Regions from separate parts of the Homo sapiens genome. Here region 2 is linked to region 1. The links are contacts of gene promoters, found by promoter capture Hi-C in blood cells and fetal thymus (Javierre and others, 2016). All regions are on one chromosome and are shown on one strand. The core of a region is centred on a gene start or on the middle of the fragment in contact, and the rest is flanking DNA. Distances in the headings are between cores, read along the strand shown.

The links. The method cuts DNA at HindIII sites, captures the fragments that hold promoters and counts their contacts. A CHiCAGO score of 5 or more calls a contact.
Region 2: a fragment that was not itself captured here is called in contact with the fragment with the promoter of CNOT1 in region 1 in 1 of 17 cell types (fetal thymus); the score reaches 5.4 in fetal thymus.

What each region holds. Positions count from the first base shown.
Region 1 is chr16:58,626,684-58,633,747 of GRCh38, forward strand. It overlaps CNOT1 (CCR4-NOT transcription complex subunit 1), which reads right to left and starts at 3,143. Exons shown (of 49, transcript NM_016284.5): 1 at 3,045-3,143. RefSeq lists enhancers at 2,220-2,896, 2,897-3,572, 3,021-3,230, 3,521-4,010. The HindIII fragment of the contact is 12,291 bases long and covers 2,141-7,064 here.
Region 2 is chr16:57,179,397-57,186,460 of GRCh38, forward strand. PSME3IP1 (proteasome activator subunit 3 interacting protein 1) reads right to left here and starts at 6,643. Exons shown (of 7, transcript NM_024946.4): 1 at 6,425-6,643. RSPRY1 (ring finger and SPRY domain containing 1) reads left to right here and starts at 6,933. Exons shown (of 15, transcript NM_133368.3): 1 at 6,933-7,055. RefSeq lists an enhancer at 6,268-6,317 and a silencer at 7,018-7,064. The HindIII fragment of the contact is 1,176 bases long and covers 2,552-3,727 here.

The DNA.
Region 1 (7,064 bases), core at 1,893-4,392:
CAGGAGGCGGAGGTTGTAGTGAGCTGAGATCGCACCACTGCATTCCAGCCTGGGCAACAGGGTGAGACTCCGTCTCAAAAAAAAAAAGGCAGACTACTATTTTTGTTAATGTGGGACAAAATACTCATAACAAATATTTTGCAAAATTTTTTTTTAATTTAATTTTCTTTTTTGTAAAGACAGGGTCTCACCATGTTGCCCAGGCTGGTCTCTAACTCCTAGTCTCAAGCATCCTCCTCCCTCATCCTCCCAAAAAGCTAGGATACAGGCTTGAGCCACTTGCCTGGGCCAAAAAAATTAGTCCCAAAATATGACAGCACTCAATTAGAATTATTGTGGACAAATTCCATTCTCTGGTATTGGGTACCAAAGACGTGTTTGTTATTACACAGAAAGAAATAATCAAGTTCATAAATTCAAACTGGTTAAAAAGAAAGCTTCTCGGCTGGGCACCGTGGCTCACGTCTGTAATCCCAGCACTTTGGGAGGGTGAGGCGGGTGGATCATGAAGTTAAGAGTTCGAGACCATCCTGGCCAACATGGTGAAACCCTGTCTCTATTAAAATACAAAAATTAGCTGGGTGTGGTGGCGGGCACCTGTAGTCCCAGCTACTCGAGGGGCTGAGGCAGAATTGCTTGAACCCTGGAGGCAAAGGTTGCAGTGAACCGAGATTGTGTGCTGCTGCACTCCAGCCTGGTGACAGAGCGAGACTCCATCTCAAAAAAAAAAAAAAAAAAAAAGTTTCTCATAACCAGATCAGAATCTATCCTAAAACATACTCAGAAAAAGTAACATGCAAGGTAATTTGAAATCAGACTTTAAAGCATGTTTTGAAAAGATGGCAAGCATTTCCATTTGTTTTCATAGCTTTTTTTAATGACTTGACTCCAAATAAGAAGGATGTCTTATTATTTAGCTTGACAACATCTATGTTAAAGAGACTAGGATCTAAACCCCGAAGAGAAATTCAGAAACTAGAAAAAAAGAAAATGAACCCGGGGTGTTAAGCTGGGAACCAAAAAGAGCACATTTCAATTCTTTTCCACCGTAATGCCACAAAACCGTACCTTAAAACTTCTAAGATTACAATCTTAGGTAAGAAAAGGAAATATTTTCAGTTACAAATAGACATGTCTTTGCGCCTTCATTCTAGACTTTTTTTTGAGACGGAGTCTCCCCGTCCCCCAGGCTGGAGTGCAGTAGCTCTATCTCGGCTCACTGCAACCTCCGCCTCCCGGGTTCAAGCAATTCTCCTGCCTCAGCCTCCCAAGTAGCTGGGATTACAGGCACCTGCCACCACGCCCGGCTAATTTTTGTATTTTTAGTAGAGACGCGGTTGTGACATGTTGGCCAGGCTGGTCTCGAACTCCTGACCTCTGGTGATTCACCTACCTTGGCCTCCCTAAGTGCTGGGATTACAGGCGTGAGCCACCGCGCCCAGTCGATTCTAGACTTGTTTCCACTAAGACTTGGGGAACCCACACTTGTTGAAAAGGAACTAACTCTCCAAACTAGTTTTATCAACATGCTATCATTTCAGTCAAAGCACAGCTAGCCACCTAAAACCATGTATCATCAATGCATATTCTCCTTAGACAAGGTAACAATTTGCAGTATCCTAAAACATAATTATTTAAACTGTTACCACATGTCTTCTTAATAGCTAAAATACTCTGCTGCCAATCTTTAAAAGGGTAGGAATACCAACCGGGACCACAGATCACTTAAGTATTAAACCCAAGTACCTATAGAAAAAAATTGTTCTTAATCTGTTTGACCTTCCTCCTAATATTTTACTTGCCTTCCCTCATTTTTTTAATCCATGTATTCCCTATTCCTATCAAAGGGGCTGTCATAAGGAAAACGTTCGGCATTGTTTCAAACAGTATAATTATATTCACTCAATCACTGACTTAAAAAAAAAAAAAAACCCAAGTAGTCACAGGCTATCGAATTGTAGAGAAATCGGCAGGGTAGGTTAAGCATTGTTACTCAGTTTTCAGGAAGAAAACAGACTTTATTAGAGTCCTAAGAAATGTGACATTTGATTAACTTCATGGGAAAAGTTTGTCATAAAGTTTATTTTAAATACAACATTTTCAAACGCACAGATGTCAAGCATTCTTTTTTAATCTACAAAGCTTACTCCTCGGGGAGTTAGTATCTGTGAGCCCTCTTGGGTGAATTCTGCAAAGGAGGTGGTACTGAAAAAGTATTATTTGTGTTTGGCCTTAAGTACCTCTACAAGACCTGCCGTGGATCTTATCAGCCTTGAGGCCTACAAGTGCTCAGCTCACTAGCGGGACACTTGTCCTGGGTGAGCAGGACCGCCACTACTGCAGACACCGGACCGAGTAGGTGGGGGCCAACTTCAAAGAAAGTGTGAGCGCCCAGGCGCGCGAGTGGAACAAAACCTGTAGCAAGTAATAAGGAAGTGCTTGCTCCCGCCCGCCCTTCCCATCCGGGGACACCCGAAACCTGGGGGGCTTTGACAACGTGCTGGGGGCGTAAGACGGGGAGAGTGGCAGCTCCGAGTACACGGAGAAGAACTGGAAACATGCAAAAACTCCAAACACGGTCCCCCCCGCCAGAAGCCCTAGGCCTCGGAAGCCGATGCCCACTGCAACCATCAGGGAGCAGAGACAGAAACAGTAGTTAAGGAGGTCGTGGAGGTCTCAGAGGGGTGCAACCCGCGCGAAGCCAGGCCCAGCGACACGAACTGCCGCCGCTGCCGCCCCCTGAGCCTCCAGGCCCGGGACAGAGACCACCATGGGTCTCACCCCGCGCTCTACCCTCCGCTTCCTGGAGCCTTCTCGCTGGCCTCTCATCTTCAGAGCGCGAAGCCTCCGAGAGCCGTGTGGAGAAGAGTCCGCCCTCTCCCGCCTCGTCCCACTTCCCCGTCCCGGCTGCCTCTCACTCCCTAGAGCTCCGGGAAACGCTTCCAGTGGCCCCAGGTCCACCCCTGTTCCTCCTCCCACCGGCTCTCGCGTTCCCAAGCTGACACCGCCACCCTACCCTAGCCCCTGACGCCAACCCGCCTCACCTCAGGCGGCTCCGGCAGCGCTGGACACAGGAAACTCCTGGGTCCCCGACTCCGGCTCTCCTCGACCCCCTCTTCGGTTAACTCCGCTTGTTTCTCTACAAAATGGCGCCGGAGGTCGCGCGCTCACGTCGCGGCCTTTCCCCTCCCCGTTCCCATTTCATCATTCGCTGCCCGCCCGAGGAGGGATGGCCCCAGAGCCAGCCAATGGCCGCGCCCCGCCTGTGGCTTCTACCCAATCACCGACAGGTGCCCGCGGATTTAAACCAATCACACTCTATCACTTGCAGAAGTCGAGGAAGAAATCAGGCTCCTGCTAGCAACTACCAATCCGGCCTCCTACTTCGCGGACTTTGGCCAATTGCCGCTCACCAGGCCCAGGGGACCGGAGTCAGAGCCCTCGCGCCTGCGCTCGAGGCGAGGGCCAATAGGGAGAGGCTGATAACTTCGATTTGGGGCTTCACGTACTTCCCACCTGCCCTGGAGGGCTGCGACCAGTGGGGCTTGGCATTGCCTTTGAGGAACAATAAATTATGGAAGGGGCCCATAACTCCTCGCCACCCTGCGCGGGAACTACTTTGAATTACAGTGAAACAGCTTTCCTCCACTTTCCTTCCTCTTTCGAAATGTCACGGTCCAGTAGACTTCGGGGATTCCCAACCGAAACAATCCCCTCCCCTAGTGTCCCTTTGGCGGGGAACGCCAGCCAGAAAGCAAGCCAGGTTGTGACTAGAGTTGGGGCGCTTTGCATCCTGGGATGTGTAGTCGCGCTCCTCTACCCCGTTCCCATCGCAGAAGTAATGCGTCTTCGTTCGTCGCTGCGCCCTAGAAGGAGCAGTGCATGCTGGGGGTTGTAGTCACCCAGGTGGCCACCTTGTCCTCGCTTGCTTCGCTTTGGTCAAGGGAACTTTCTGTTTTAGTTCTGTCTATTGAAGAAGGGACACCTTCCAGAGACGCCTTCCAGAGACGTAGGAGACGCAAGTTCTCTTCCTGGCTTAAGTCCTAGAAGCCGTCTAAGAAAGGATACCCATGTCCTTTGCTCTCAAGAGAAAAAGCATAGAAACATATTTTGCTATGGTTTGTTTGTTAACTATGATAGTTGGTAAGATTTTATACTCACCTGTACCCAAAAGAGAAAGGATTGGGAAGGAAGTGTTGACTGGTTAGCTCTATTACCTTTTGAAATTAAGGCCGGGCGCGGTGGCTCACGCTTGTAATACCAGCTCTTTGGGAGGCTGAGGCGGGTGGATCACGACGTCAGGTGATCGAGACCATCCTGGCTAACACGGTGAAACCCCATCTCTACTAAGATACAAAAAATTAGCCGGGCGTGGTGGCGCACACCTGTAATCCCAGCTACTTAGGAGGCTGAGGCAGGAGAATCGCTTGAACCCGGGAGGCGTGGGTTGCAGTGAGCAGAGATCGCGCCACTGCACTCCAGCCTGAGCGACAGAGCAAAACTCTGTCTCAAAAAAAAAAAAAAAAAAAAAAAGGCAGGGCGCTGCGGATCACGCCTGCAATCCCAGCACTTTGGGAGGCCGAGGCGGGCGGATCACGAGGTCAGGAGATGGAGACCATTCCGGCTAACACGGTGAAACCCCGTCTCTACTAAAAATACAGAAAAATTAACCGGGCGTAGTGGCGGGCGCCTGTAGTCCCAGCTACTCGGGAGGCTGAGGCAGGAGAATGGCGTGAACCCGGGAGGCAGAGGTCGCAGTGAGCCGAGATCGCGCCGCTTGACTCCAGCCTGGGCGACTGAGCGAGACTCCGTCTCCAAAAAAAAAAAAGAAAAGAAAAAGAAATTCAAACCTATCCCTGTGCTCACCCCTGTCCTCAGACTAGGCTCAGTAGGTGGTCTTCTGGCCATCTCTCTCATATTACCTCTCGTGCCCAAAAAAATACTTAAAAAAAATTATGGTAAGAAACACATGAAATTTACCATCTTAATCATTTTTAAGTGTAGAATACAGTAGTGTTAACTATATGCATATTGTTGTACAACAGATCTCTAGAACTTTTTCATCTTGCAAAACTGAAACTACATCTGTTGTTTAACACCTTCCATTTCCCCCTCCCCCTAGTCCCTGACAATCACTATTCTTCTTTATGTTCCTGAGTTTGATTACTTTAGATACCTCATATAAGTGGAATCATGCAGTATTTGTCTTTTTGTGACTGGCCTAGTTAACTGAGCATATGTCCTAAAAACACATCTTTTTTTTTTTTTTTTTTTTTTTTTTTTTTTTTTTTTTTGAGACGGAGTTTTGCTCTTGTTGCCCAGGCTGGAGTGCAATGGTGCAATCTCAGCTCACTGCAACCTCCGGCCTCCCCAGTTCAAGCAAGACTCCTGCCTCAGCCTCCCAGGTACCTGAGATTGCAGGCACGTGCCACCACACCCAGCTAATTTTTGTATTTTTAGTAGACACAGGGTTTCACCATGTTGGTCAGGCTGGTATTGAACTCCTGACCTCAGGTAATCCACCCGCCTCAGCCTCCCAAAGTGCTGGGATTACAGGCATGAGCCACCAAGCCCAGCCTAAAAATACTTTTCGACACCTCCCTTTCCTTAGTTGGAGGCCAGGTCTTTCAGCCTACATTTACTGAGTCCCTTGTGCTTTCAAGCAACTGTGCAAGAGCAGAACTGTGCAAGAGCCAGGGACCCCACATATAGTAAGAAGAAGGATCACTTCCGTCTTGTTCACAGCTGTATTCTCAGCACCTAGTATTGTGTCTGGCACATGGTAGGCATATGTGCAAATAGGCCTTGCAGGGTACTAAAGGGAGAAATCGACTTACAACATTGTAATCTTAGAAGTAAAAGGCCCCCTAAACAGAACAAGGATGAGGAATAAGGCCCTTCCCTGCACGGTTGCTAGTAAAAGTTACCAAAACCCCTATGTAGAGCAGCATTTTGGCCGAGTTTATCAAAAGTGAAAATGCCGACCCCACTGACCCAGTAATTCCATGTCTAAGAATTTACTCCACAGATGAACATTGCAAATGTGTGCAGAGTGCATACAGATATACATGGAAGCGTTGTTTATGGGGACCCAAAAGATTGGAAACAATAATAAAATGTATGGTACTTTGGGCCAGACCCCATCTCTACTAAAAATACAAAAATTAGCCAGGTGTGGTGGCAGGCGCCTGTAATCCCAGCTATTCGGGAGGCTGAGGCAAGAGAATCACTTGAACCCGGGAGACAGAAGTTGCAGTGAGCGTAGATCGCACCACTACACTCAAGCCTGGGTGACAGAGTGAGACTGTGACTCAAAAATAAATAAATAAATAAATAAATAAATAAATATCGTACTTTTTAATGAAATATTATGAATTTTTTTTTAGACGGAGTCTCACTCTGTCACCCAGGCTGGAGTGCAGTGGCATGATCTTGGCTCACTGCAAGCTCTGCCTGCCGGGTTCGTGCCATTCTCCTGCCTCAGCCTCCCAAGTAGCTGGGACTACAGGCGCCCGCCACCACGCCTGGCTAATTTTTTGTATTTTTAGTAGAGACGGGGTTTCTCTGTGTTAGCCAGAATGGTCTCAATCTCCTGACCTCGTGATCTGCCCACCTCGGCCTCCCAAAGTGATGGGATTACAGGCATCAGCCACCATGCCCAGCCTCTTTTTTTTTTTTAAATGAGGTAAGTTGGCCGGGTACAGTGGCTCACACTTGTAATCCCAGCACTTTGGGAGGCCGAAGCGGGTGGATCGCCTGAGGTCTGGAGTTCGAGAGCAGCCTGGCCAGCATGGTGAAACCCTGTCTCTAAAATACAAAAATACAAAAATCAGTCTAAAAAAATAATAATAATTTAAAAATGAGGTAAGTCTACATTTGCTTATATGGAATGGTTCTAAGATTTATTGCTAAATTAGAAAGTTAGATGAAGGAAAGAAAAAATATATAATCATTATGTTACCATTTGTGTGGAAGAAAATAACTATATCTATATTTATATATAACTAAATGCATCAAAACATTTGAAAAGATATACTTCTCCCCCCCAACTAACACCAATGTTT
Region 2 (7,064 bases), core at 1,890-4,389, 1.4 Mb before region 1:
AACTGGTAACACTGAACTACTGGGTTTACATTGGAGACCGTCCCATTTAATTTCCAGGGTGGTGGGACAAAATGGGCTCAGTTCTTACATAGCACACTACACATGTTTTAAAATACAAAACTTACATTGTTGCTCCCCAAATAATTGCTATTCCTAACTTGAAAAATGACTCCATTTAGCTAGTGCCATGACACAAAGTAATGAGATCTGGTTTCCTATGGAATTGAATTATGTGATGGCAAACTACTTGAGTGTTTACATCACTGGCCACCATATCCTTCTAATTCTAAAATTAATTAGATTGTACATGTTAAAACACACCAGAATCAGGTTTCTGTGTTCTGTTGTTTTAAGGCTTCACTTTCAGTAGCAAAAGCAATAGGTCAATCCATTTCCTTTTGTGAGTAAATATAGATTATTGCTTTCCAACATTTTTTACTCTGATGTTCAAGTCACACTGTACTTCAAAATGCAGGACAGCAACTAAGAGGAATTTGCCATCTGGCTAACTCATCTATATTTCAAATAAAGACTTATTTCTGGCCAGAAGGCACTTCTACCAAGATACAGTTATTTAGATTTTTAAAAATTTAGCTGACTTTTCCTATATCATAAAATTTATTTAGAGAACAACAACTACTAACAGAGAGCCCGCTGTTAGTATTTATTACTAGGCAAAGTGAAGTCAATCTTCTAACACCAAAGCTTAATTAACATATTCCGGTAGCAAAGGAGACTAAAAGAATCTAAAAACTAAACCACAGAAAAAGAAATTTAATCCATATTTTAAATGTTTATCATAAGGAGCAATTTGCAATAACCTTTCAGGCATCTATGAAACACATACAATAAAAAATTCAGCTTTGCAATAATCTTTCAGGCATCTATGAAACACATACAATAAGAAATTCAGCCAGGCATGGTGGCTCACACCTGTAATCCTAGCACTTTGGGAGGCTGAGGCAGGAGGATCGCTTGAGGTCAGGAGTTCAAGACCAGCCTGGCCAACAGGGTGAAACCCCATTTCTACTAAAAATACAAAAATTAGCTGGCTGTGGTGACATGTGCCTGTAATGCCAGCTACCTGGGAGGCTGAGGCAGGAGAATCGCTTGAACCCAGGAGGCGAAGGTTGCAGTGAACTGAGATTTCACGCCGCTGCACTCCAGCCTGGGCAATAGAGCAAGACTCCGTCTCAGAAAAAGAAAAAAAAAAAAGAAAAGAAATTAAGGCCTGGTGCACTAGCTCACACCTGCAATCTGAGCACTTTGGGAGGCCAAGGCAGGATTGTTTGAGCCCAGGAGTTCAAGACCTGCCTGGGCAAGATGGTGAGACCCCAACTCTATTAAAAACAAACAAACAAACAAACAGACAAACAGGCTAGGCACAGTGGCTCATGCCTGCAGTCCCAAAGCTGTGGGAGGCCAAGCTGGGAGCATCACTTAAGGCCAGGAATTTAAGACCAGCCTGGGCAACACAGTGAGACTCTCTCTCTACAAAAATATTTAAAAATTAGCCAGGTGTGATGGTGCACTACTTAGGAGGCTGAAGTGGGAGGAAGGCTTCAGCCAAGGAGTTCCAGGCTACAGTGAGCTATGAGGGCCATTGCACTACAGCCTGGGCAACAGCACAAGACCGACCTTGCCTGGCGAGGGGGAAAAAAAAGAAGTTAAAAAAAAAGTATTGATTTATTTATCTTTCCATAGCACAAGGGCAGGGTCTCAAATGTGCATTTATCTTGAATTCACCTATACACACTAGAAGAAAGATAACTAATTTAAATATCGGTTCCCTTAGCTGATCCTCATTCACATGCACCTCTCTGAATATAAATACTTCCCTCACTATGCATGAATGATTGTATTCATTGTATTTTTTACATATTGTGACTCCTAAATACAAACCAACAACTTCATCTGGGGCTCACAGGAAGAAAAACAGCAGTTTTTTCCAAAGCCGAAATAAAACTTGCCTGAGGATATAGAGAAAAAAAAAACCCAAACCAAACCAAAGCATTTTTGCTATTCTCTCACTCAACAATCAACACAGTATAATTCTGTGAGGGATATGTCCCCACACACCAAGCAACCAACCAATTCTGTAGCAGACACCAACCAGCTGGGTGTCCTCTAATTCAGTTCAATTCTGACACTACCTACCTGGATGGAGACCGCGTCAGATCCCATAGGTTGAGGGGTGAGTCCCACAAGACTAGCCTCCATTTTAGATACCAACCACAAGAATCAGGTTGTTTTACCTGTAGTTCTAACCAACTGGCTATTAATCAGGGTTCCCATGACCCCCTCCTTAGGTTCTATTAATTTGCTAGACCAATTCACAGAACTTAGAGGAACTTAGAGGAACACTTTACTTACATATACTGGTTTATTATAAAAGCATATTACAAAGGATACAGATGAAGCAATGCATAGGGCAAGGCATGTGGGAAGGGCACAGAGCTTCCATGCACTCTCTGGGGCACCATCATCCAGGAACCTCTCATGTCCACCTATCCAGAAGCTCCCCAATCCCAGTCTTTTGGATTTTTATGGAAGCTTCATTACTTAGACATGACTAATTAAACCAGTGACGCTGGTGGTCATCAGCTCGTCTGCCTTCTCCTCTCCCCAGAGGTTGGACATTGGTTGAAGGTCCCAACCCTCTAATCCTGCCTGGGTCTTTCAAGTGACCAGCCCCCATGCTAAAGTTACTTAGGGGCTGCCAGCCATCAGTCAGCTCCTTAGCATATAAAAAGACACTAATCATTTTGGAGATTTCAAGGATTATAGGAGTCATATGCCACAGGAGACAGGGATGAAGGCCAAATATGTATTTTACAATATCACACTGGCCATGTCAGAGTTCTGCAACACTGGTATTCCTACAATTAACATGCTGCCTCCCTGAGATTTCAAGGGTAGCTTTGCTTGTAAGCTATTTTGTCATCTAGGCTCGCTTCAGAACCTAACCCACACCTCAAGTCATACTCCATCCTCCCTCCCCCCACCCTATATAACTCCACTTCAAGACCAAATTAAAAACAAAATAAAACAAAAAAACGCAGTCCCAGTTACTCAGGAGGCTGAGACTGGAGGACTGCTTGAGCCTAGGAGTTCAAGGCCAGCCCGGGCAACATAAGGAGATACCCATTTCCCTTAAAAAAAAAAAAAAAAAAAAAAAAACTTTGCATTACAATAACCAGACAAGGCCAACTAAGATTTTTTTTTTTTTTTTTTTTGGCGCAGTGGCTCATGCCTGTAACCCTAGCACTCTGGGAGACTGAGGCAGGTGGATCACCTGAGGTCAGAAGTTCGAGACCAGCCTGACCAACATGGTGAAACTCCGTCTCTACTAAAAATATGAAAATTAGCCAGGCGTAGTAGCACATGCCTGTAATCCCAGCTACTCGGGAGGCTGAGGAAGGAGAGTTGCTTGAACCCGGGAGGCGGAGGTTGTAGTGAGCCGAGATCGCGCCACTGCACTCCAGCCTGCGCGAAGTGGGCGAGACTCCATCTCAAAGAAAAAAGATTTTTGAAGCAAATATTTACCGAGAACCTATTATGTGCAAGATACAATGCTATGTACTAAACAGGCAACTGAGGAACTTACACTCATTCAGTAAAAGACATAAGGTTGGCACACAGCAATTTAAGGAAAAGTAAAACTAGGTTACAGGCCATAAGAGGCACTAAGCAGTTCAGAAAGGAAGACTAGAATAAGCATTGGGGAAGCTTAATTTTCATAATGGCTGTGACGATGCACAGTGAAAAGTGGTGGAAATTTTAGGTATATGAAGAATAACCATCTTTAACTTGGAAATCACACAAATTTCACATTCCAAATTTCAGAATACAGGGGGATTTTCATTTCTTGAAATAGTGGGCTAGGTAATTGAAACCAATTCTCCACCTCTGCACTAAATATGCTGGAAATTTGTCAAAAATAATTTTTTTTTTGAGATAGGGTCTCGCTCTGTCACACAGACTAGAGTGCAGTGGCATGATCTCAGCTCATTGCAACCTCCACCTCCCAGGTTCAAGCGATTCTCCTACCTCTGCCTCCCGAATAGCTGGGATTGCAGGTGCCCGCCACCATGACTGGCTAATTTTTGTATTTTTAGTAGAGACAGGGTTTCACCATGTTGGCCAGGCTGGTCTCAAACTCCTGACCTCAAGTGATCTGCCCACCTCGACCTACCAAAGTGCTGGGATTACAAGTGTAAGCTACCACGCCCAGCCAAAAATATTAATTCTTAAATAGAAAAGCTAACAAGATAGTAAAGAATTTGGACACAATCTAGAAGGTGAAAACCAGAAATTAAGCCCAATATTCAAAATGGATTTCATCCTGAGGACTTCTCTGACCTAAAAGCTAAAGTTTCAGTGCCTTTATGAGATAACAGAAACAAGTTCAAGCCAGGAGCCCATCCAGGGAGTGGAGTCTGACAACTACCTCCCTCTCCATCTTAATCTTGTGCCCAAAAGAACTACAGCTTCAAAGTAAAGGTGAACTGGGAAGTAAAACAGCAGGAATAATGGACAACAGAAACAGACTCCCCCAAAGGGAATTCAGACAGTGGAATTAAACATAGAGATTATAAAAACAACTATACTTTCCATGTTTAAAGAAATAAAATTAAGCCTCAAAATAGTAAGAAATAAAAAACTGTAAAAGTGTCACAAACCAAACAGAACTTCAGAAACTAAAAATTGCAATATATGATTTAAGATTTCAGAGGCCGAGTTTAATAACAATGGAAATAACTTGAGAATAAATTATCCAGAATGTACTACGAAAGAACAGAGTAAAAGACATAGAGAAAAGAGTGAAAAGGTTTAGTTAAATCGATAAAAAAAAAAAGAGAAACAATGGGAAGAAGCAATATATGCATATAAAATGGCTGAGAATTTTACAGAATTAATGAAAGACACTAATCCACAGATTCAAGAAGTCTAATAAATACCAAACAAATTGAACAAAAACAAACCCATAGTTCCATAGAGCATAGTGGAAATACAGAAAACCAAACACAAAACAATCTTTTTTTTAAACTTGTCGATACTTGATTTTAGACAAAACAATCTTAACAACATATTCTATAGTAAAGAGTGAAACATAATATTTAAGAATGAAGACAAAGTATGTTCAAAAGGTGACTAATGGTGAACACGTTGAAAATGCTTAATTTAGCTGCCATAAAGGCATAATTACACTATGACTGACCCTGTACGTACATCGCACTTGTTACTTGATTTACCACATACGTGGTTTTCAATAGCTAAAGCAGCAGCTTGATTCTAACCAAGCATCACCATTCTTGGAAGATGAAAGTGAAGACTGATAATCAACTAAATGGTTTTGACACAATTATTCCTTTCTTATATCATGAAGCACTTCCCCACAGGGTAAGGACATGAAGACTTCAGTTGAGAAAGATAATCGGGCAGCCTCTACTTTCAGATCCTTACAAATTGTTCGCAGGTCATCTAACTAAAAGACTGTAAAAGCTGCTGTCGGCTCAATACTTTGTATCAAAAAGGAGTCTACCCACTGATTCCCTTCAAATATTTCAGAAGGGTGCCTTCCATTTTATGGTGTCCCTGTGGACACATGAATACACCAAATAACTGATGAATCGACAAATCTTATGTCACAGGTGGTAGGCAAGAGGTCATCGGGAATTCCGATCACCAGGCTCGCATCTGGCTTCTTGGGTCCCACTCCTGAACTAACCAGTCGGGCTACCCGAGCGTGCGGGAGTCTGAGAAACTGCATTTTAAAAGGGCCCCAGGAGATCTTGTTTTCCACTAACATTAAAGAACCACGACTACGAACAAACAGGTCTCCCCCTTTCCTCTGTGTGGACTGACAGTCACAAGGACCACCAACTCTCAAGCATGACGCTTCAACTCTCTTTGTTTCTTAAGTTTTCTGCAAAACGGGCCAGCTGGCTTGTTTTCCGTAATAGAAAATTCGCTTGGCACAGCAACTGGTACATGGCACACAATAAATGTGCTTCCCATCCTGCACTGCCATTCTGGGATTCAACCATTTCCAACCAGACGCCGCACATCCGAGTGAGTAACCTGGACCTGTTCCAAGACCTCTGGAACGGAGCCTGCTACTCACTTGAAACCTGGGTGGCCCTACCTAGCAGAAAATTGGGGAAACCCCATTAAACGCCCGGCAGTGTTGGGCCCGCCTGAAAGGGTCCTCGCCGCGACCCAGATGCCTTCCCGCGGGCACCCTCAGCTCCCCTCAGGCTGGGCCCGCAAGCCCCAGGCTTCGGCTACTCCGGACAAGGAGCGGGTGCGCGGACTGAGAACAGGCCTGGCCCTAACCCTAACAGCAGCCGCAGCTCATCTCTTCCGTAAGGAAGCTGGAACCCAGGTGTCGCCGCCAGGCCAGGACCGAGGCCGCACTCACCTACCGGCGCGCGGGAGGCGAGACGACCTCACCTCGGCGGCGCCCACCCCAAACCGCCACCGCAGAGCCGCTCGCTCTTAAAAAAGAAAAAAAAATGAAAGGAAGAAAGAAAGAAACAGAGGAAGGAATGAATGAAAGAAAGAAAAAAAAAAAGAAAATAGCCTTTGCTTTTGTATTTCTTTTGACCCTTCAGGGCTTCCTGTTCCTCACCGCCACAATAGAGTCCCGCCCCACTTCCGGCGACGTAACCCAATCCGCGGAGCTCTTCCTCCCCGGGAGCCCGATGGAAATCCGGTACCCTGAAAACGAGCCGGAGAGACTTGATTGGGCCATTCACGCCTCAGGATGAGGACTGGCCAGTCTGCGCCTGGAGGGCGGGCCGGTCCCGCTGATCACGTGACACGATTTTTGAAAGGTGATTGGCTGTCAAGGAGAGGGCTTGCCACCGAGGAAGGGGCGTTTCCTAGGGGACTGAGGGAGGGCTGGGGCGGTACGAAGCGGGGGTGGGCTCTGCGCGTAATGGCAGCGCCGTGGCCTCGCGTCCATCTTTGCCGTTCTCTCGGACCTGTCACAAAGGAGTCGCGCCGCCGCCGCCGCCCCCTCCCTCCGGTGGGCCCGGGAGGTAGAGAAAGTCAGTGCC